7 separate regions of the Homo sapiens genome follow, and all the other regions are linked to region 6. Evidence: promoter capture Hi-C in 16 types of primary human blood cells and fetal thymus (Javierre and others, 2016). All regions are on one chromosome and are shown on one strand. Each heading gives the region's core, a stretch centred on a gene start or on the middle of the fragment in contact. The rest is flanking DNA. Distances are from core to core; before and after follow the strand shown. Region 1 overlaps FAF1 (Fas associated factor 1). Region 2 has its middle 18 kb from the start of ELAVL4. Region 3 has its middle 28 kb from the start of LINC02808. Region 4 overlaps ELAVL4 (ELAV like RNA binding protein 4). Region 5 holds the start of ELAVL4 (ELAV like RNA binding protein 4). Region 6 holds the start of BEND5 (BEN domain containing 5). Region 7 holds the start of LOC105378711 (a long non-coding RNA gene).

Region 1 (2,700 bases), core at 69-2,568, 1.7 Mb before region 6:
TTTTTTTAATCAAAAAAACAAAAGTGAGAAGAATGTAGTGCAGTAGGAAGGGGGTTAAGCTGGGAACCATGTCTCCTGGGGCAAAATTTTAATTCTTCTAGCCACTTGTTATGTGATCTCAAGCAAGGTACATACGTCTCTGGGTCTTTTTTTCTTTATCTAAAATATGAAGAGATTAAGTGTTTTCTTAATTTTCTTTCAGCTCTGATATTATGTGATTCTGTGATTAAATGACCTGGATGTTGATAATACATGCCCCATTGACAACTCTCTTCCGAAAACTAGAACAAAACCATTGGCTTCCTGGTCCTACTGGCTTTATTTAAGATCATCTTCTTTCCTTTTATATGACAGTGTCTCTGTCCCAGGCAGTTTATGAGGAGTTAAGCTTTTATTTACTGTAGCTGGAGGCTTCTATAAGCCAAGGCTTTGACAATATTTCACATTTATTTATCTGAGCTAGAGCTTAGGATCAGGTGGCAGCTAAGTCACCTAAGGTTATTCAAATGCATTGAAAATGTTGCTTAATAATTCAGAACCAGTTTTCTCTGTTTAGAGTATTAAGATTTTTTAAATCCTTCTAATTAGCCAATTCCAACAGCAGTTTAGGGAAAATTCTGTCCCCTCTGAAAGGGCAACTGATGCAGACTTACTGTCAGCCCCTGTATCTGTGTAGCAGAACTGACAGAAGCTAGAGCCAGAGAGCTTCCAGAGCCAAGGGAGCTGCTGGAATGACCTGCTGATGGTATCACCAACGGAGTCTGCCTGCTGTAGGAATGAGGCTGGGGGAAGAGGTCTGAGGATGCAGCTCCTCTAGACTCCATTTCTTTGAATTCATGGAGGCTCTAGGGAGGAGTGGGGAGTTTCCATTTAGTCATTCAGTAGATCAGTCTTTCAGCAAACATGTAGTGAACTTACACTGTTTCCAGCAGTATGCTAGGACCTGGGGATAGGTAGCCAGTAAAATCTCTTATGTGCCCTCAGAATTCAACCTGGCTGGAGAGACAGACTCATAAACAAATAATCAAAAGGCACAACAGATAACTCAGTGTGAAACTGTGGCTGATCCCTTGAGCTAGATCCTCTAGGATCTCTTGCCTGGTCAAAGTATAAGAATGCTGTTTTAGCAAAAGACAGGGTTGGCATTGCCAGTACCTGCATTCCACTTTAAACACTGACCTTATGTCAGCCAGCAGACCTTGGCAACTGCCTTGTCTGAGGATCCTAAGGTGAAATAAAGGTATTAGTCCGGTAAACATGGATTGACCACATGCAGGATAATGGGATAGGCATATGAGGGAGAGACCACAATGAACATATATGGTCACTGTGTTCCATGAGCCGATGGCCTAGTGAATGATTCCAGCTATGATTAACTCTGTTACAGGAATAGGAGAAAGATTAATTTAGGCTCTGTCACTCAGGCCTGATTTTATGGAGAAAGTAGCATCTGAGCTGAGCCTTGAAGGACATATAGGTTGGGACAGGTAGAACTGGAGAGGGAGGACAGTCTAGGTGGAGGAAACAACATAGCAAAGGTTCAGGGAGGAAAAGCACAAGACATATTTGAGGAATAGCAAACTGCTCTAATTGTCTGGCACATAGGGTCTATGAGAGGATAATATTTAGAGATCAGCATAGTAAGCAATGTTGGGGCCAAGCCCCTACCCCCTGTTCGAAAATTTAGACCCAGATTTCACTTATTTGATGTATTTTTTGAGAGAAAATATTTTGCCACTTCTAAAATGTTGTTACTGTGATAAGCTGTGATGATGCTCATAGCAGGTCCATAAGGTGGTACACCAGACAGATATCAACATCCTTGTTTAACAGACAAGGAATCTCAGAGGACAAAAAGTGACTTGTCCTAGAGCACACAGGTAATCAGAGCAGTATGCTAGGGTCAGGAGGCAGGTTTGCAGTTCCCCAAATGATGCTTGTTCTCTGACTCCCCTCCCCAGCTCTGAGCCCTGACCCTTTGTGGATATGGCAACTAAACTGATAGGGAATACGCATGAAGAAAAGGCTGGCCAGGTAAAATGCATATCTCCAGCCACCTTCAAGTACCACTTTCCTAGCATCCTCTCTTCCTAAATACTTTTCTTTCTCATCATGGTGCTTTTGCTTAAGCCCAGGAGTTTGGGAATTTTGGGTATAGGTTTGGTATTGTACAGGCCGCTGCTGGACCAGCCTTCAAAGAAAACACGTGCTCTGTTCATGATTCTTGCCTTCCAGTTTTATAAGCTTTTGGGTAGATGAAATGTACTATCAAAATAGCTCAGAGAGAGCCTTGGTAACATTTAAGATATTGAACGTGCTGCATCTGGTAACTAGAAAATTTAATGATCTCCTGCTGTTTTGGTAATTGGATAAGTAAATACATCAGAATAAATCACACCGGCAAGTCTTTTGTATGTCGTTAGGGACTAAACTCTTTTAACTCCTGTTCAAAGCCCCAGCTCTTGAGTGGTGTTTGCGTGCAGAGCAATGCACACACCAGCTCGCATGGCCCTGCTTGGATATTAAAATTCATTCAAAATGCTCACTTTCTCCCTAGCCCACTGGGCCTGAGGAGCACATGTAGCCCACCACTCCAGATCTCTCTGAAGCCAAGGAGAAAAGATTTTTTCAGAAGTTTAAATGATAACCTAATAAGGTATTTGAGCTCTTAATGATCTATGTCCAAACTGTCTTTCCAGC
Region 2 (2,700 bases), core at 116-2,615, 1.3 Mb before region 6:
CCCGAAACATGCCAGAACATCCCTGCATAGGCCACATTTTATGCCTTTGCACAAGTTGGTGTCTCGCCTGGGATGCCCCCGACCCCTTGTGTGTCTGATGGTCATACACCTATAAGATTCAGCTCAAATGTCACCTTTGTGACATCATCCCTGACCTTCTAAGGAAGAACTTACCATGCTCTTTTTGTGTTTCCAATCCTGGCCCTTCCCCACACATATACCCATCATAACTTGTCTATATATGTACTTGTATCCATCATTTATTTATCTCTATTTCCATCTTTCCTACTAAGCTGTGAAGGCAAAGACCCTTATTTATCTCTGTATCTGAAGCACAATGCCTGGTACAGTTTGTGGATGGACAGATGGATTAATGGATCAACAGATGGACAGAGTCAGTTACAGTGAACTAGAATGGCCAAAAAACCCATCAGCTGATACAATCTTGTGTGGTCTAGGCGAAAGAGTTTGGAAGTATAGAGATTTGGGTACTCATCTTGCATACATGTCTCACAGACCTTAAGCGAGCCACTTAATCTCTCTGCACCTCAAGAAGTCTCATCTATTAAATGGGGATAAAACATGACATCCCTACCTCACACTACAATGGCTGGGGATTTTAACATGAGATGATAGAAGTGAAAGTGCTTAGAAGAAAATGTTGTTTCAATACAACATGGTTTCAGGAAAAGGAAAGCATTAGCAACTTTAACTTACTTGGAGATATTTTTAATGGAGGTCAGTGCTTCTTTTCCTTCCAAACTGACACATGGCTGTGCCTTTTTAAAGTCTGTTACGGAACAATAGGTGACAAATTTCTGTGTTGGGAGTCTTTGGGGGTGAGTTTCTTCTTCTCTTGCTAGACGTGAGGAAGAGGATTTGTCCTCTTTATGGGTCTGGGGTTTCAACTCTTGAGGTCTAAACACTTCTGATGGCCTTGAACTAATTTTGGCCACCATCGACAGAATGGGAGTGGAAAAATCCCTACCACATCTGCCTTGTCAGGGGGTGGAGGAGAGAACTTTCTAAATAGCCTCATTATTGGTCCCAGCTGAATTCTGCTCCTGTTCCATGATGCCAGCAAAAGCATTTTAGTAAGACGCTGCCAGCATCAAAAGCAGATCCACTTACGGTTTCCTGTAAGCGTATCTGCAATGGCAGAAGGTGGCGAGCAGCCAGGTGTGAGCGTGCGTGCTAAAAATCTCCAATACGTCAAGCTGGAAGAACAATTCATGAAATGAAATTCAACATTCTATTTCTACTCCAAGAACTCAGTTTAAGTCACCGGAAATTCAGATGGGTAATTCAGCTCCAATTCCCTTCTGCTTTACTGAATCAGAGAACCTCAAAGATAGAAAGGTCCTCTGCATTCTTCTAGCTTAAATTTCCCCCACCTTACTCCAGTAGGACTTGGAAAATAAGGGGTCACTGGACTCTGCTTACATACCTTCAGTGAAAGGGAGCTCATTCACTACTTTTCCAATAATTTGCCTCATTTTGGGCTACCTCTGACTGCGGTGCAGGGACTGCCAAGTGTCCACCCAGTCCTATTTCCTTTTCTGCCTAGCCATACAGCTAGAATACAGTGGGGCTGAGTGATTGAGCTCCGGCCATTGGAATGTGGGTGGAAGTGATGCACATCACTTTTAAGACTAGTCTCTAACAATTTCTCTATGATGTGCCATCTTCACTCTCTCTCTTCCTTTGCCTACCAAGTAGATGCAAAGGGTACAAAGGAGAACTCTGAGGCCCTAAAGGAGAACAGAGCCACTAGATGAGAGGCACCTGGGTCCCTGAATGACTGAGTGGAGTATAGCATCCTATGGACCCATGCTGAACTGTGAAATGAGCAAGAGCTAACCCTGACTGTGTCAAACCATTGAGATTTCAGGGTTGTTTGTTACAGTAATTGGCCTATTCTGACTAATATATACTGTTCAATTTTTTTTTTCAATTGCAATACTAGACTAAGTGTCTTGAAAGTTACTACATCACCATCTCCCTTAGAAGCCTAGTGGCACACATTGTATAGAATATTTTAGAATAGCTCTTTCTCTACACTACTGGCTTCTGAAAAGTGAAAAAGAGTAGTGTGAGAATGCAGAGGAAGGGGGTAGGAGAAAGGAGAGGTGGGGATTTTTTCAAGGACTAGTCTTTTTATATGTGAGAGTTTCATTTATAGCTTACAACAAACTTGAGATAGATAAAATCACTAACTTTTTAACAGGAGGAAAAAAGAGACTCAGTTGTCATACATAACCTCTGCCTGAGCCTGTTTAGCCTCTGTCATTCCCCACTGATTTCAGCACCAGAACCTTCCAACTGTCCTCTGTGGCAGACCTTTTTACAACCTCCACCCAACTCTCTGATGCCCAAATACCAACCTGAGAATTCCTATACTTTACATGTTGGGACCTCAAATGCTTTTGAGGCTTTTACATGACTCTTAAACATCTGAATCTCTTAGGCGTTGAGTTTCCCCATCTGGCTATTCTTCTGCAGGTGACCCTAGGAACCGTCTGTATTCCCACTGTACTTGGCCTTATCCTTCCCACCCCTGATGGTATCACTGAGAAAATACACCTCATTCCCCAAGCCCACGCTAAAAACAGAAAGGGTTAGAAAGATGGTTTTTTGTTTTTTGTTTGTTTGTTTTAGAGATAAAGTCTCACTCTGTCGCCCAGGCTGGAGTGCAGTGGT
Region 3 (2,700 bases), core at 186-2,685, 1.6 Mb before region 6:
GTTTTATTGTGTGGTGGAGGTAGCTCTCAGCGAGGTGGATGGGGAGTCAGAAGGGGGATGGAGTGGGAAGGTGGTCTTCTGGTGGAGTTGGGCTCCCGATCGAATTCTGCATCATCCTGCCTCAACGGCCTGTAGTGTCTGCTGGTGTCTGTTGGTGTGCTCTTCTGCTCCTCTTGATGTCCAGCTGCTTGTGGGTGTGCCTGCTGTGGTCCCAGGTTTTTAATGGGCACAGGATGGGGGGTGTGATGGGCCAGACTGGTCTTGGAAAATGCAACATTTGGGCGCAAAAACAGGAGTGCTTGTCCTCACTTAGGTCTGTGGGCACAGGCCTGAGGGTGGAGCCCTCACCAGGGACCCTGCCCCTCTCTACCCAGCACTTCCCTGCCTCCTTTCCATATCACAGACCATCTGTCCTTGGGATTTTGAGATTTCCTATAGTCTTATAATCCCTTTTGGTTTCAGCTGACTTCAGGGGGCTTCTGTTCCTACCAGCAAGAGTCCCAACTAATATGCAAATATTCAAGATCTCCCAAGGAAATTAGGTGGAAGGAGAATGGCCTAGGATGGAAGCCTGGGGACCACCGGCATGTTACTCTCACGTGGGGAGGGGAAGAGGGCCCTGCAAAAAGACTGAGGAGCAGGAGGAAAATCAGGAAAGGTGGTTGCAAATGCAACCAGGATAAGGAATGATGGAAAAGAGTCCACTGCAACATGAGGATGCATGGGGACCTTGAGAACAGTGCTGGGTGAATGCAGATGAAGTCAGGCTGCAGGTGATTCAGAGAAAGTGCGCAAATGAGGAAGTTCATCTATGAGGGTAGATACTTCTGGAGGAAGCTTGACTGTGAAACGGGATAAGGAGGACACTGGTAAAGCTCAAGGGAAAAGGGTTGAGGGAGGCTCTCTCTCTCTCGCTTGCTCGCTCGCTCTCGCTCTCTCTTTCTCTTTAGGGCAGAAGAGACTTGAGGATGTTTATAGATTGAGGGGAGATGTTAATGATGCCCAGTTGAGAGGGGCTGATGTGTGCTCCCTGAGGGTCCAGGCACTGGGGACAGGCTGGACTTGGACAGAGGAGGGATGCTTATCTTCTAAGATGGAAGGGGAGGCGGCAGGAGTGGTTTATAGTGTGTGAGGGGAGTGTGGGGTGCTTCCAGCCTGATGCCTCAATCTTCCCATTGTAGTGAGACGTGAGCATAGCAGGTGGGGCTGAATGAGCTGGAGAAGAGTGGTGCAGGCATCTTGAAAGGGGAATGGGAGGAAGTGCTTCTAGAGAGTGAGCCAAGAGTAGGGCAGTGTGGGGGCCCTGCTGTGGTGGACCAGGTGTGCTGGAGCCTTCTGCATAGCAGGGAAGCCTACTTCAGCCAGCACAGGAGCTGAGCAGATAGATGGTGGAGTGGGGGTGTGGGTCACTGGGCCGCGGACTAAGAGGGCAGGGGTGCAGGGTGTTGTAAGTGCTGGTTCAGATGATCCACCAGGGGTCACCCAGGCAACAGGGGAAGGAGCAGTGGGGTCAGCTGAGAGAAAAGAGCAGGGGAGAGGCCCAGAGGCCCTCAGGAGGTCCAGGGCTGCAGAATGCTGCCAAAGGGCTCCCGGGAGGCAGGCAAGGGGAACAGCATATGTTTGGTGGATTCTGAAGGTGGGGTTAGTCTCTAGACAAAGTTATAACTCAGTCTATGGCCAAGGTCAGGCTCAGGCTATGACCACAGTCATGGCTCAGTCTTAGCAGGGCTCTGTCTGGGGTTATTTTTGTGCTCACTGTATGATCTGGGAGAAGTTGAGCAACTTTCCTGGTGAAGCAGACTGACCCCTGCACAACTGCAAGCTCAAACCCAGGTCTGTCTATTCACAAACTTGGGAACCAGCTCGCAGACCCTAGGCTGAGCAGAGTGGAGTTATCAGAGATTTCTTTCTTTCTTGGGGAAGCCTCTTCCCTGTCATCTCTGTATGTACCACTAGAGGGCAGCAGAGACTTGACTAATGGAAAAGGCCAGCACTTTAACCCAGCAGCAACCTGAAACCCGTGCCAAGCTTGACTCACAGGATCAGGGGGCTGGGGAAGGATTTCTCAACTCCACCTGCACCATCACTTGGTCCAGGCCCAACCTTTTTGCTGAGATCAGCTCCGAGGGTCAGAGGTCCAGACTCTGGAACCCTGACACTGACATTAACCCCTGACAAGGGACCCTTACCGTGCCTCAGCCCTGACCTCTCTCTGGCCAGATCATCAGTCCTGGAGACTGGGAGTGGGGTTTGATTGCATCTGTACCCCCAGTGCCTAACACAGAGCCCAGCACCGAGTGGGTGCTTTGGAAATGTTTATCCAAGCAGCACTTGGAGGGTGGAACAGTGCAATATGTTGGAAAGTGCCTGGCTTTGGGATCAAAGAGATCTGATTTAAAGTCTGGGTCTAGCTGTGTGATCTTAAGCAAGTCACTCAGCCTCTCTGAGCCTCTAATTCGCCATCTGTTAGAGGAAATACTGGCACCTAAGTTGAAGGGCCGTTGTGAGGATTAAATGAAATGACCCAGGGATGTACCCAGTACCAGAGACCAGTTGCTTAATGAAGGCAGCAATTATTATGATGCAGTTTTGAGGGATGGTGAGTAGCCGGGTGTGGTAGAGGAATAGGTGGGAGATGAAAGATGTGATTGTCAGAGGAGGCTGGAAGTCACAAAGGAGCCTGAATGCCACATTAAGGAC
Region 4 (2,700 bases), core at 137-2,636, 1.4 Mb before region 6:
TTTTTATAATGTGAGAAAATGTATATGATCAATGTAGAAAAAGAAGTGAAATAAAAGATTGATTATCTCAATTATATAAACAAGTACAGAGTAGGAGGGAAAAATAAAAAACACTAGAATAAATGGCAGAATTACAGGTGATTGTTACACTTTTCTCCATCTTTATTTGTCAACTCTGTTTTGTTTTTACAGTGAGAATACAGCAGTTTTATAATCTGAAAGGAAGTTGTTTTTTAAAAAAGAAAGAAAATGTCAAGTCCTTCAAACCAGTTTGGAGTCACAGTATTAAAAATGATTCTGTCTCCTCCCCAGAGCTATCCTGTAGGATCTCTCCTTGGACACACTCTGTTTGTTCCTACATTAGAGTACTCATGGGAGCCCAAATGAATAAAAATCACATTTCTAGAAACAGTCTCTGGTTCAGTCTCCCCTTCACCTAAATCACTGTGAATTAGCAAGGTTACAATCTTAAGTCTGCCTATCGCCCGGCAGCAACCTTCATGAGGACAGCAAGGAGAGAAGATGATTTATAAGAAAACCATTCCCTGGATCAGGGAGTGAAAAGTACTGATCCGTTCTAAAAGCTCCTGCTGACAAACTCTGATATTATGAACATTTTGCACTTGGACAAAAGCTCCCACTTTTGTTAATTACATGGTTTGAGCAGGAGTCTGCTTTCAGGATCTGCCCAATCACACAACAGCCATTTATTTTCCCAACTGCAGCTGACAAAATTTCCCTGATCTCTGTTCTGTGCTCCATCTTCAAGGACATCTTGTGAATGTATGACACTGTCAAGTGGCATTCCATACCACGCTTTTTAAGCTTCTCTCTCTCTTTCTTGCATTTGAACATCCTTCTAATACGTATCGATTAAAAATATCATGAACAAGAAGCAAGCAAAGTAGAAATGGAAAAAAACAAACAAAATCCAGAAATCACAAGTATCGGAATACTTACGTCTGCTCTGAGGCAAGCACTTTTTATGACATTAAACCACTAATATTCTCTGTCCTCTGCATGATGGGTTTGCTTTTGTTTTCAATATTAGGAAAATGGGTGCCAAATCTATAGTTTTCTGTGTGTAAAGAGCATGGGACCTCACTGCAAACTTCTGGTTTTTTTTTTTTTTTTAAACATAAATTTTACTTCTGAATTTATCTTTTTAAAATCCTCTTAGTTTCCCTTAATTTCACTTTCTTCATTGTTCTATTTGTTTGTTTGTTTGTTTTGAGACAGAGTCTTGCTCTGTCCCCAGGCTGGAGTGCAGTGCTGTGATCTCTGCTCACTGAAACCTCCGCCTCCTAGGTTCAAGTGATTCTCCTGCCTCAGCCTCCTGAGTAACTGGGACTACAGGCATGCGCCACCAAGCCCAGCTAATTTTTTTGTATTTTTAGTAGAGACAGGTTTTCACCATGTTGGCTAGGATGGTCTCAATGTCTTGACCTTGTGATCAGCCCTCCTCGGCCTCCCAAAGTGCTGGGATTACAGGTGTGAGTCACCGCACTCGGCCCATTGTTCTATTTTTTTAAAAAAACTCCTACTGTATGTATTTTTATGATTTGCCACATAAAAATAGAATTTTAGATTATAAGAGAATAAATAAGTTAGTATTTCTGTCTTCACAATCTTTTGCCTTTTCAAAATATGCTTTTGAAAGGTCACACTCACTAATTGGGCAAAAGTCAAGTTGGCATTTTTAAAAATCAAAAATAAAACTTTTAAATTATAAAAAAGACATGATAAAATTTCAAAAATTACATTTGTATTATAATTCAAGCTGCATAATCTACAATTCTCAGATAAGACCCTTTTAGAATTAATTTACTATGTCCCTAAGAATATTTAGTATATGATACATGTATATTATCATGTATATTTATCAAATGGATATAATACATGTATTTTGAAACTAAAACATTACTTTTCTGAGTAGGGTAAGCTTGTCCTTTGAATCACAGATACAAAGAAAATTTGTTTGGTAAACTCTTGCAACTCTTAATATATTCTTTTTATCCCAGAAATTTACCTTTTTTAAAAAGTAAAATGTTAACACATATTCAGAATCATCCATTGTCAATTAGAGCAATCTAAAATTTCTTTAGTTACAGGTATATATTTGAGGGCAAGTTATGAGACACAATTTAATGATGTTAATTTAGTACTTCATTGGAGCAGCCCCTCCCCCAAACTGAAGTTAGCTCTCAAAAGAAGGAACAAAAGCCAAGCTAAGTTTCCTAACATTAATGAGTTCCTTCGATGGGCCAGAAACCATTATGTTGAATGCCAGAGATATGAAGGAGAGAGAAAGAGTTCCTGCCTGCAAGGAAGTAAATAAATAAGTAAATAAGAAATTACTGTCTAATGTCATAAGTGTAGTAATGGAAAAAGTACATACAAAGTGCCTGGAATATGACAAACACTCAGTAAAGGGAAATCCTGTTATAATGCTGATTAAAAAGTGCTTTGAGTTACACAGGAAAATATTTAGGCAAGTAATTATCATTAAGTCCTTCCAATGGTACTAATAAGAAATGGTGAGAGGTGTCTTTACATACATCACTTCACTTAATTCTCACACAACTTTGAGAAGTGGGTATTGTCATTCCTCTCATTTACAGATGTAGAAGTGCTGTCACTCTACACATGATGGAGTAATGAGTCTTCAGGCAGAGTCCACTGTCACTTAACTAGGACTGT
Region 5 (2,702 bases), core at 16-2,515, 1.3 Mb before region 6:
TGACATTCCTTCTTACAGAGCTGCTGCCCAGAGAAGGAAGCAACAACTCAACACGCCAGGCACTGCTACACATACAAGCCGCCTCCTCTTTTTTATGAGGTCATGACAGGAAACTCTTTGAAATACAAGATGCAGCATTTACTGAAGCCCAAATAAATCACTCTCTTTGCCGTTTTGACTGCGCAGTCCCCCGAAACACAACTGCCCATCTCAGTGTTCAGTATCCAGGAGCTGCCTCTCGAGGTTTAAATTTCCAGCACGGAAATTGAGAGATTCCTAACCCCGCTGCATCCACCCCCAGCCCCACAAAACCCAGGCACGTAGACAAACCCCCTCTCCCTTACAAAAAAGAAAACCCTTCTTTTGCCATTATGTCTCAAGTAATATAACCTCTTTCAATAAACCAGCAATTATTTCAGCCCTCCCCCTCCACCCCTTGCCTTTATGTTGAAGGGAAAACTGACAACGACTTGCTAAAAATGACAATCTTATATCCCCATTGCTTTTCAATAAAAGGACCTACCCGCACTCTCTACACAAAAGAGATAGTAAATGTAGGAACCAAACAGCAGCACAGAACTAAACTCTTGTGCAAGCATAAGACTGGTCAAGGTGTAGATGCTTTTCTTCCCTCCAGCAACACAAACAACAGATTATAAATCTAGTCATACCTACCATAACCATTCTTATTGGCAAATATTGGGTCTCGCAGAGCTTCGACTCTTCTGTTAAAATTTGCAAAGATTTCAGAATATATATTTAAAATGACTACTATTGTTATATATAATTAAAGATCCACAAAACACAGTGTGGATGATTGTAAAGCAAATCAATTATTTTTGGGGGGGTGGGCGGGGGAGAGAAAGAAAAAAAAGAAAAGGAGCAGTGAGCTGAAACCCCCGATTCTAGGATGTAGATAAGAACAACTGAACAGAGCCTTGCTGAAATTGGCTCGAAGCTTCCCCTTTTTACATCCATTTATGGGACCATCTGTCAGCCGAAGCCTGGATCTGATTGGCTGGGGAAACGAAGGGAGGCGTTGCAACATCAGGTGCTATTTAAATTAGCTACTGCCAGATTGACGATGTTAATGATTTGGTGACCTCTACAACAACAGAGACCAGATTTCTGAACTGCTTCTTGTGTCTGGTAATTAAGGCCCGGCTGAAGCAACAACAGCCATACTTGTATTTTTACCTTTTCCCTCCTCCCAGCTCAAAAGTACTGTAACAACTGCAGGTCACTGGAGGCTTGCAAACCTAAACTAACAGTGGGAGGGTCCTTCTTTTCCCATCCTGAGGGCCGAACCGTGCCACCTCTCTGATGGAGGGCTTTTCCACCGTAGAATATTTTCAACCACCTTATCTTTCTAGACAGTTGCTTTCTAGCGAAATGCATATTTAATGATCTGCCTGTAGGCTTAAAGGTACAACAAAAGCACTTTAATGTGCTAATTCATCTACAATTTAACTTTATTATTTCCAGATATTGCTGATTTTTAGTAAGTAATGCTCCTTCTCCAGCTAACATGGCCAACATTTCAAAAGCAAGCAAGTTGGGGATTAAGCTTGCTCCGTGAACTAGGTTCATACAAGTTTGTCTCAGAAAACTATTTCCTAATAAACAAAAAGAAAAAAAATGGTGGGGGTAAGGGAGGGGCAGCTGTCAGCCTCTACCTTTCTGCCTTCTGTCTGAGCTTTTCAAAACTGAGGATGATGAATGATTTACTTAAATGAATTTATTTTTCAAGTTGGATAGGAACATGATCTGAATTTTTAAAAATCCACTAAAACACATTCTCCTACCCCTTTAGAGAAAGGTAAAACATGCTTTTGACAACAGCCTCATTTCAAAACCTGTGCAGAGTGTTCATTTTGCTTAACTAAATAAGTGATTTTGCTTCTCTCCTTCAAAGGGATGTCTTTTTTTCTTTGGCCTCTTAAGAGATTTGCAAAGAGACATTTAGCAAGTGTATGGTGAGGTATACAGTTTGTCTGCCTATTTACACATTTAACAACCTCTACACTACCAAGCCTTCAGTAGTGTATTTTTTGTTCTGGTTTGGGTTTTTTAAGTGGCTTACCTGAGAAGTTCATGCTTCACACCTATGCAAAAGACTAATGTGTCACTATTTATTTAACTCATAATTTAATCAATTTGTTCTTCAATAAATACACAGTGGTAACACATATTACCAAATACAAAATTCAATGTAATCTTTAATCTTTGACTAGAGTTGACAGTGAGACAGAACTAGGCAGAGTAGACATACAGACCAAAAAATAAGCTATATTTCTGGGTTTCAAAGTCCAAGAATAAATGGGTTTGTGAAAAATTATTAGGAAAGAAAATAACCTTACATTTTTCAAGATTAAAACTATTCTGTCCAAGATGCTGTTTCATGAACACACACATATAAACATACATATATATTCACACTTCAGAAAATACAGATACATCATAAAACAATATGTGTTGGGTACACTGCATAATCCATTAGACTTGAGTATGAATACGTTCAGCTATTAGAAATGAAAATACATGAAATAGAAAAGTACAAATGTTAAAACTATAATTCCTTAAGGTGGAACAATACTCAGTTAAGTAAACTTTTAAAGTAATTTCTTTAGCAAATGTATAAAATGTCCTGTGAGTCACAATAGTACTACAGTATCTGTTGAACTGTGTACTGAGGGTGAATT
Region 6 (2,700 bases), core at 59-2,558:
ACAGATGGATGGATGGTTGGATGGATGGATGGATGGATGGATGGATGGATGGATGGATGGATGTGGGTTTTTATTTATTCTTCTTTACCCAAAATTCATTAACTCCCTGTCAAGTGCCAGGTCTGGCTAGGCAACAGAAATATAACTAGCCATATTTGATACGAGGCATCCCTGTGAAGGTACTGACCTCCTCTGATGTGGGATAGGGTTCCTATGAGTACAGAGCCCAATCAGCCCCCTTTGGCTGGTCCTCACGGCTTGTCTTGGAGGGGACCCAAGCCCCTCCAGGCTCTCTTTGGCAAGAGACAGAGCAAAGACCGCTATTCCATGGAGTACTATTCCTGTACTCTTCAAAGTGCTCCAGAAATCCCTAGCCTTGGGCCTGTGTTACCCAGAGCGCTCCTCAACTCCCTCCGCGATTCCAAGTTGTCCCTGCTCAGTGGTGGGCGTGCTGTGGAGAGGGTATCTCAATGGAGAAAGACTATAGAGGAGAGGGGCGCCACTGCTCCCTCAGATGAGAGCAGCCCTTGACAAACCTTCCACCTCCCCAGCCAGCTGGCACAACTGGAAATCTCAGATAAGCCCCAGTTCTGGTCAGAACTGGTTTGGCAGCTCTAGGGGAAATTTTCTGTCTGACTGACCCTTTCCACAGAGGGAGCTGGCAGTTTTGCAGAACAAAACAAACAAACAAACAAACAAAAAGAAAGAAAGCAAAGAAAAGGCGGGGCCAAACTAAGGGCTGGGAAAGGCGCGGGGAGGGTGCGGGGCTGGGGGCGCGGGTAGGGTGGCTACATTTAAAACACTCCAAACTTCTGCTGGCTTCCAAGTTTACACTTTGAGATTCAATCAAGATTGCCCCCACCCCTATCCCGCATTCACTCACTCATACACTTCTCTACTTGGCAATGCAGTTTTGTTGCAATGCAATTTGGCAGCGCGATTGTTGAAGCAATATAATCCTGCACGCAGCGCACCTTTTAATCAATGCATTTTTTTCCTGCAATGCTCTTGTTATTATTTTTATTGCAACTGAATCTCTGAACCCTTTTCCCTCCCCATTCGAATCGCGCTCCGGCTGTGATTGCTCGGGTCTGACTTTGCAAGTGGCAGTGCGCTTCCAAACCCCCCTCATCCGCCCCTCGTCCCCCTTTCCCCCCCTCCCTCCCTTTTCCGCGCCCAGGCGAAAGCAGCCGATTGGCAGAACGGTGCTTTCAGGAACAATAACAGTGGGGGGAGCCTGGGTCCTGGGGAGCCGCCCCCGCCCCCCCCAGCACCGTAGCGAGACTCGCGCCCCCCGCCGGATCCCCACCTCCGCGCCCGCCCCGCGGGCTGAGCTGCCCGACCGGGGCCCGCCCCCGGCGCCCACCATGTACGCCTTTGTGCGGTTCCTGGAGGACAACGTCTGCTACGCGCTGCCCGTGTCGTGCGTGCGCGACTTCAGCCCCCGCTCGCGGCTGGATTTTGACAACCAGAAGGTGTACGCCGTGTACCGGGGCCCGGAGGAATTGGGCGCCGGGCCCGAGAGCCCCCCGCGCGCCCCCCGCGACTGGGGCGCGCTGTTGCTCCACAAGGCCCAGATCCTGGCGCTGGCAGGTGAGCAAGCGGGCGGGGAGGGACGGTGGGACCCGGGCGGGGGCTGGGACCCCGGGAGGGGCCGGGGGCCCGGGCGGAGGGGACCGGGGGGAGCCACTGCTTGCTCCTTCCTGCCTCCTTCTCCCGTCCTCTGGGCATTTCATTTGGGAACGGGGTGTCTCTAAGAGGCCAGGCCAGTTAAAAAGACCGGATGGTCCCCTTTGTCTTCCCCGCTTCCCCGAAGCTCCCGCGCTGTCAGTCCGTCTTCATCTCTTCATCTGTGTCTGTCCTCCTCTTTCTGATTCTTTGTGTTTTCTTCGTTCCTTCACTTTCCATTTTTCTCCCTACCTGTTTGTACCGTCATTTCTCTCTCACCTTCTCTTTACCTCTCTCCCAGTTCCTTCCCTCTGTTCTTTTCTGTCAAGAATTAAGTTTCTCAAGCTGTCTGTCTCTCTCCCTTTAAAGGCTGTTGGTACCTCCTTGGAGTGAGGAGCAAGAAGGATATTGTCAGATCTTCTAGGTGGGAGTCCCTCCTCACAGAGGGAAGCTATGACATCCTTGTCCCATCCGGGCCAACATTGGACAGGATGAGGAGGCCATGAACCTCAGTGCACTGGGCTCCACACCACACTCTCCTGCCCCTCCCTGGCCAGGTGGCAGAGGTAAGGAGGTAGAGGCCCTAAGGCATCCCTCAGCCTCCACACCCCTTTCTGAATCTCCCAGAAGGCTCCCTGAATGAGAGAGTTGAGGGCCAGGAGAGAGTTTCTGGGTCAGAATAACACTGGACCTCTCATCCCTGCCCTGCCAGGGCCCTGAGAGATGGGCTAAGGCAGCTAGTCTCATCTCCATTTCGTAGATGAGGGTACTGAGGTTCAGTTGGTGATAGGGAAAGAAACCAGCCCTTTATCCTCCTATGCTCCAGTTCTTCCTGCCATGCTGAGACACCTTTTCCTTTGTAAAGAGAAGACAGCTGGCCCTCTTTCCCAGCTAGTTCCAGAAAGTTTGAGTCTAGACAAGCAAGGAAGGGGGAAGTATCATCTCCGTTTTGGGGAGCAGCCTTTTTAGCTCCTGCTGGTAAGGAGAATGAACCTTAAAGTGGGCAAATAGTGTTCCTGCCTTCTACCAGAA
Region 7 (2,700 bases), core at 25-2,524, 1.5 Mb before region 6:
TTGACTGAGTTGCTGAACCCCTCTGGGTCTGGGTTTCATGGTTCACAGCTGAGACATGTTTCATGGCTTCATTGTATTTTTGCACACACTTTTTTTCTCTGCTAGAATGCCCTTGTGCCTGTGTCTGCTGGCCAAATTTCCACTCATCCCTGAAGTACCCTCTCAGCAATCATCTCCCTGGGAAGATTCCTTAAATAGGCTTAGGTGTTCTTCTCTGGGCTCACATGTGATATACCTCTGCCCCCTTCTTCATTTCTGCTGTTTATTTTTGTGTTGCTTTCCTGCACCCTTCTCTCCTTCACCTCCCCCAAGTTTTTGCTCAGATGTCACTTTCTCCATGAGGCCTTCTTTGACCACCCAATCTAAAGCTACCACCCAAGACATTGCTTATTGCTTCCCTTGTTTTTCTTCTTACACATTTTATGTTCAGCCCCTCACCAGAATGCAAACTCTCGGAGGGCATAGATTTAGGTCTGTTTCAGTTACTGTTGCAACCCCAGAATCTAGAAGAGCGCCACACATAAGAGACAATATTTATTGAACAGATAAATGAATGAAGTGGGCTTCCCCCTTACAGCATTCCATGCTGAATGTTGGAAATATTTGTAAGACCAGTTTGCTACTAGATGGTGCTATGATTGAGGGACCCAAGACCAGCTGAATCCCATTATGGTGAAGCCTCCTTTTCTTCCCTTTCTCCTGTCAATGTTTCTAAGGATATTACTGCACAGGGTGGGGACTAGCAAATCAACTGGAGCGCGCAGACATGCTTTACTCTAAACTGAGGTTTTCATTCCAATGCCTAGCACCAAGAACCCCAGGGAGCTGAGCTGGGCTGCTGGGCATGCGCCTTTCCCCTAGCTCATTAGGATTGCACTTCCCCACACCACAGCAGGCCACCAATGCCCAAATGTATGTCTCATATCTTACCACTGTGATTCAAGGAAATATTAACCCAATGCCCAGAAAAGTGGAGGGAGTGAGTAAGAGAGAGTGGGGCTTACCCCTATGCCCAGTGCCGAGCTGACCCAGTTGCAATGGGTGGATGGGGTAGAGAGGCCCTCCAAGGAGAGATGCTTGGACAAACAGCTTCTCTTTTAGGATATTTTAATATACATTTATCCATGATATATCCCCCAGGGTGGGTTTGTTTAACACCATAGGGCAAGATTCCGAATACAATGTTAAATGGAAAAAAAAGAAAACTATTATCATCTATCTATATCTATCATCTATCTATCTATCTATCTATCTATCTATCTATCTATCTATCTATCTATCTATCATCGCTATGTATGTATGTATGTATGTATGTATGTATGTATGTATGTATATACTGGAATGAAGTCCAGTCAAATGCTTCTGAGAGCTCTAAATATCCATCAGGTTGTACATTAAAGCACCTGTGGTAGGGGCCCAACAGGAGCTTGGGCAACAGAAAACAGCCTGGAATTGGGGTGTCAATATCAGGCCTAAGCTGATGGAGTAGGGCCTTTAACCTCTGTAGAAGGGTGATCACCTGGGGTGAGGACACAATGTGAAAAGAGCACAGTATTGGTTTTTTCCAGAAAGGGTGAAAGCCTAGGTCTGGAGATGAACTGGGGTTTCTCTCCTTTGTTCTTAAATTTCTGGCTGGGCCCAGGTTTGCTCACTGGGCATCCCAAGGTAAAAGAGCTTCCTGCTAGGGGTGCAACTTTCAAAAGCCCTTTTATAGAAATTAATATTTATTTAATCCAGAGAAGCCTTTAAAACTCAGGACTCCAAAGACAAAAACATAAAGGAAAAATTAATAAAGCTATAAAATTTTTAGACATAATACTTATCAAGTTATTGGAATTACTTGTTTAATATATTTTCTCCATCAGACTGTAAGCCCCATGGGAACAAGTACTGTGTATATCTTTTTCATTGTTATTTGACTGGTCTCTGGCACATATGAGGTGCTCAATAAATAATAATGATAATGTGTAAACAATAGGGAATCATCATGCTTCCAGTATTTGTTATGGTTATAGAAAATAACAACAATAACAAAAACTTTCTTTGGAATGTTTTCCATTCTTTCCTCCTTGCATATGCCAGGATTAATGGAAGAAAGTTTATACACCTTGAAGCATATTGGGAAAATTGCCACAGCACTTTGCAAATTCTCCCATCATGAGGTGGAGTGCATTTCAGGCTGGCTTTGTGACTTGCTTTGGCCAATAATATAAATGACACTGGGTGAGTTATAAGCCTAGTTCAAGAGGCATTGCAGCTACATCTCTTGCTCTTCTTGGAATACTGAGACTACCATCATGTGCTCAAGCCCAGACTACCCTCCTAGATGATAAAAAACACATGGCTCAGTTGATACCCATAACCACAGAGTTGATAGCCAGCCTATCTCCAAAGCAGAGCTTCCCAACTGACTCAAAACTATACACAAAGTGAATGAGCCCAGCCAAGATCAGCAGTGGAACTGCCTGCCTGAAGATAGCCCAAATACAAACCTACAGAATCATGACCTCTGTAAATGGGTGTGTTAAGCCACTGAGTTTTGGATGGTTTGTACACAGCCATAGATAACCAGTAAAGATATTCAGAGGTAATTAGAAGGTGTTTCATCCTATGCCCTGTCAATAGAAACACAAGTAAAATAACCAAACAAAGCTCATTGGGAAATGTGTAATGAAAGTCATAATGCAGGAACAACATTTT

Evidence for each region. The method cuts DNA at HindIII sites, captures the fragments that hold promoters and counts their contacts. A CHiCAGO score of 5 or more calls a contact.
Region 1: a fragment that was not itself captured here is called in contact with the fragment with the promoter of BEND5 in region 6 in 1 of 17 cell types (M0 macrophages); the score reaches 5.3 in M0 macrophages.
Region 2: a contact is called between a fragment that was not itself captured here and the fragment with the promoter of BEND5 in region 6, in 1 of 17 cell types (M2 macrophages). The highest score is 6.4, in M2 macrophages.
Region 3: a contact is called between a fragment that was not itself captured here and the fragment with the promoter of BEND5 in region 6, in 5 of 17 cell types (M0 macrophages, M2 macrophages, M1 macrophages and 2 more). The highest score is 12.7, in M0 macrophages.
Region 4: a contact is called between a fragment that was not itself captured here and the fragment with the promoter of BEND5 in region 6, in 1 of 17 cell types (M0 macrophages). The highest score is 6.7, in M0 macrophages.
Region 5: a contact is called between a fragment that was not itself captured here and the fragment with the promoter of BEND5 in region 6, in 4 of 17 cell types (M0 macrophages, fetal thymus, M1 macrophages and 1 more). The highest score is 8.8, in M0 macrophages.
Region 7: a fragment that was not itself captured here is called in contact with the fragment with the promoter of BEND5 in region 6 in 1 of 17 cell types (endothelial precursors); the score reaches 6.9 in endothelial precursors.

Annotation. Positions count from the first base shown.
Region 1 is chr1:50,453,133-50,455,832 of GRCh38, reverse strand. The region is part of intron 18 of FAF1 (Fas associated factor 1); the gene reads left to right. The region is part of intron 1 of FAF1-AS1 (FAF1 antisense RNA 1); the gene reads right to left. Among named protein-coding and RNA genes, the nearest start is that of FAF1-AS1, 13 kb to the right of the region's middle. RefSeq lists an enhancer at 2,202-2,700. The HindIII fragment of the contact is 1,856 bases long and covers 391-2,246 here.
Region 2 is chr1:50,089,712-50,092,411 of GRCh38, reverse strand. It overlaps a transcript of ELAVL4 not described here. Among named protein-coding and RNA genes, the nearest start is that of ELAVL4, 18 kb to the left of the region's middle. The HindIII fragment of the contact is 6,186 bases long and covers 1-2,700 here.
Region 3 is chr1:50,348,144-50,350,843 of GRCh38, reverse strand. No RefSeq gene overlaps it. Among named protein-coding and RNA genes, the nearest start is that of LINC02808, 28 kb to the right of the region's middle. The HindIII fragment of the contact is 1,191 bases long and covers 840-2,030 here.
Region 4 is chr1:50,130,321-50,133,020 of GRCh38, reverse strand. The region is part of intron 1 of ELAVL4 (ELAV like RNA binding protein 4); the gene reads right to left. Among named protein-coding and RNA genes, the nearest start is that of ELAVL4, 23 kb to the right of the region's middle. The HindIII fragment of the contact is 1,117 bases long and covers 828-1,944 here.
Region 5 is chr1:50,107,172-50,109,873 of GRCh38, reverse strand. ELAVL4 (ELAV like RNA binding protein 4) reads right to left here and starts at 954. Exons shown (of 7, transcript NM_001144774.3): 1 at 676-954. The coding sequence starts at 684. The HindIII fragment of the contact is 609 bases long and covers 961-1,569 here.
Region 6 is chr1:48,775,499-48,778,198 of GRCh38, reverse strand. BEND5 (BEN domain containing 5) reads left to right here and starts at 1,308. Exons shown (of 6, transcript NM_024603.4): 1 at 1,308-1,593. The coding sequence starts at 1,368. The region is part of intron 6 of AGBL4 (AGBL carboxypeptidase 4); the gene reads left to right. The HindIII fragment of the contact is 5,361 bases long and covers 1-2,700 here.
Region 7 is chr1:50,258,156-50,260,855 of GRCh38, reverse strand. LOC105378711 (a long non-coding RNA gene) reads left to right here and starts at 2,100. Exons shown (of 10, transcript XR_947315.4): 1 at 2,100-2,700. It overlaps LOC105378710 (a long non-coding RNA gene), which reads right to left. Exons shown (of 2, transcript XR_947314.1): 2 at 2,654-2,700. The HindIII fragment of the contact is 2,988 bases long and covers 1-2,700 here.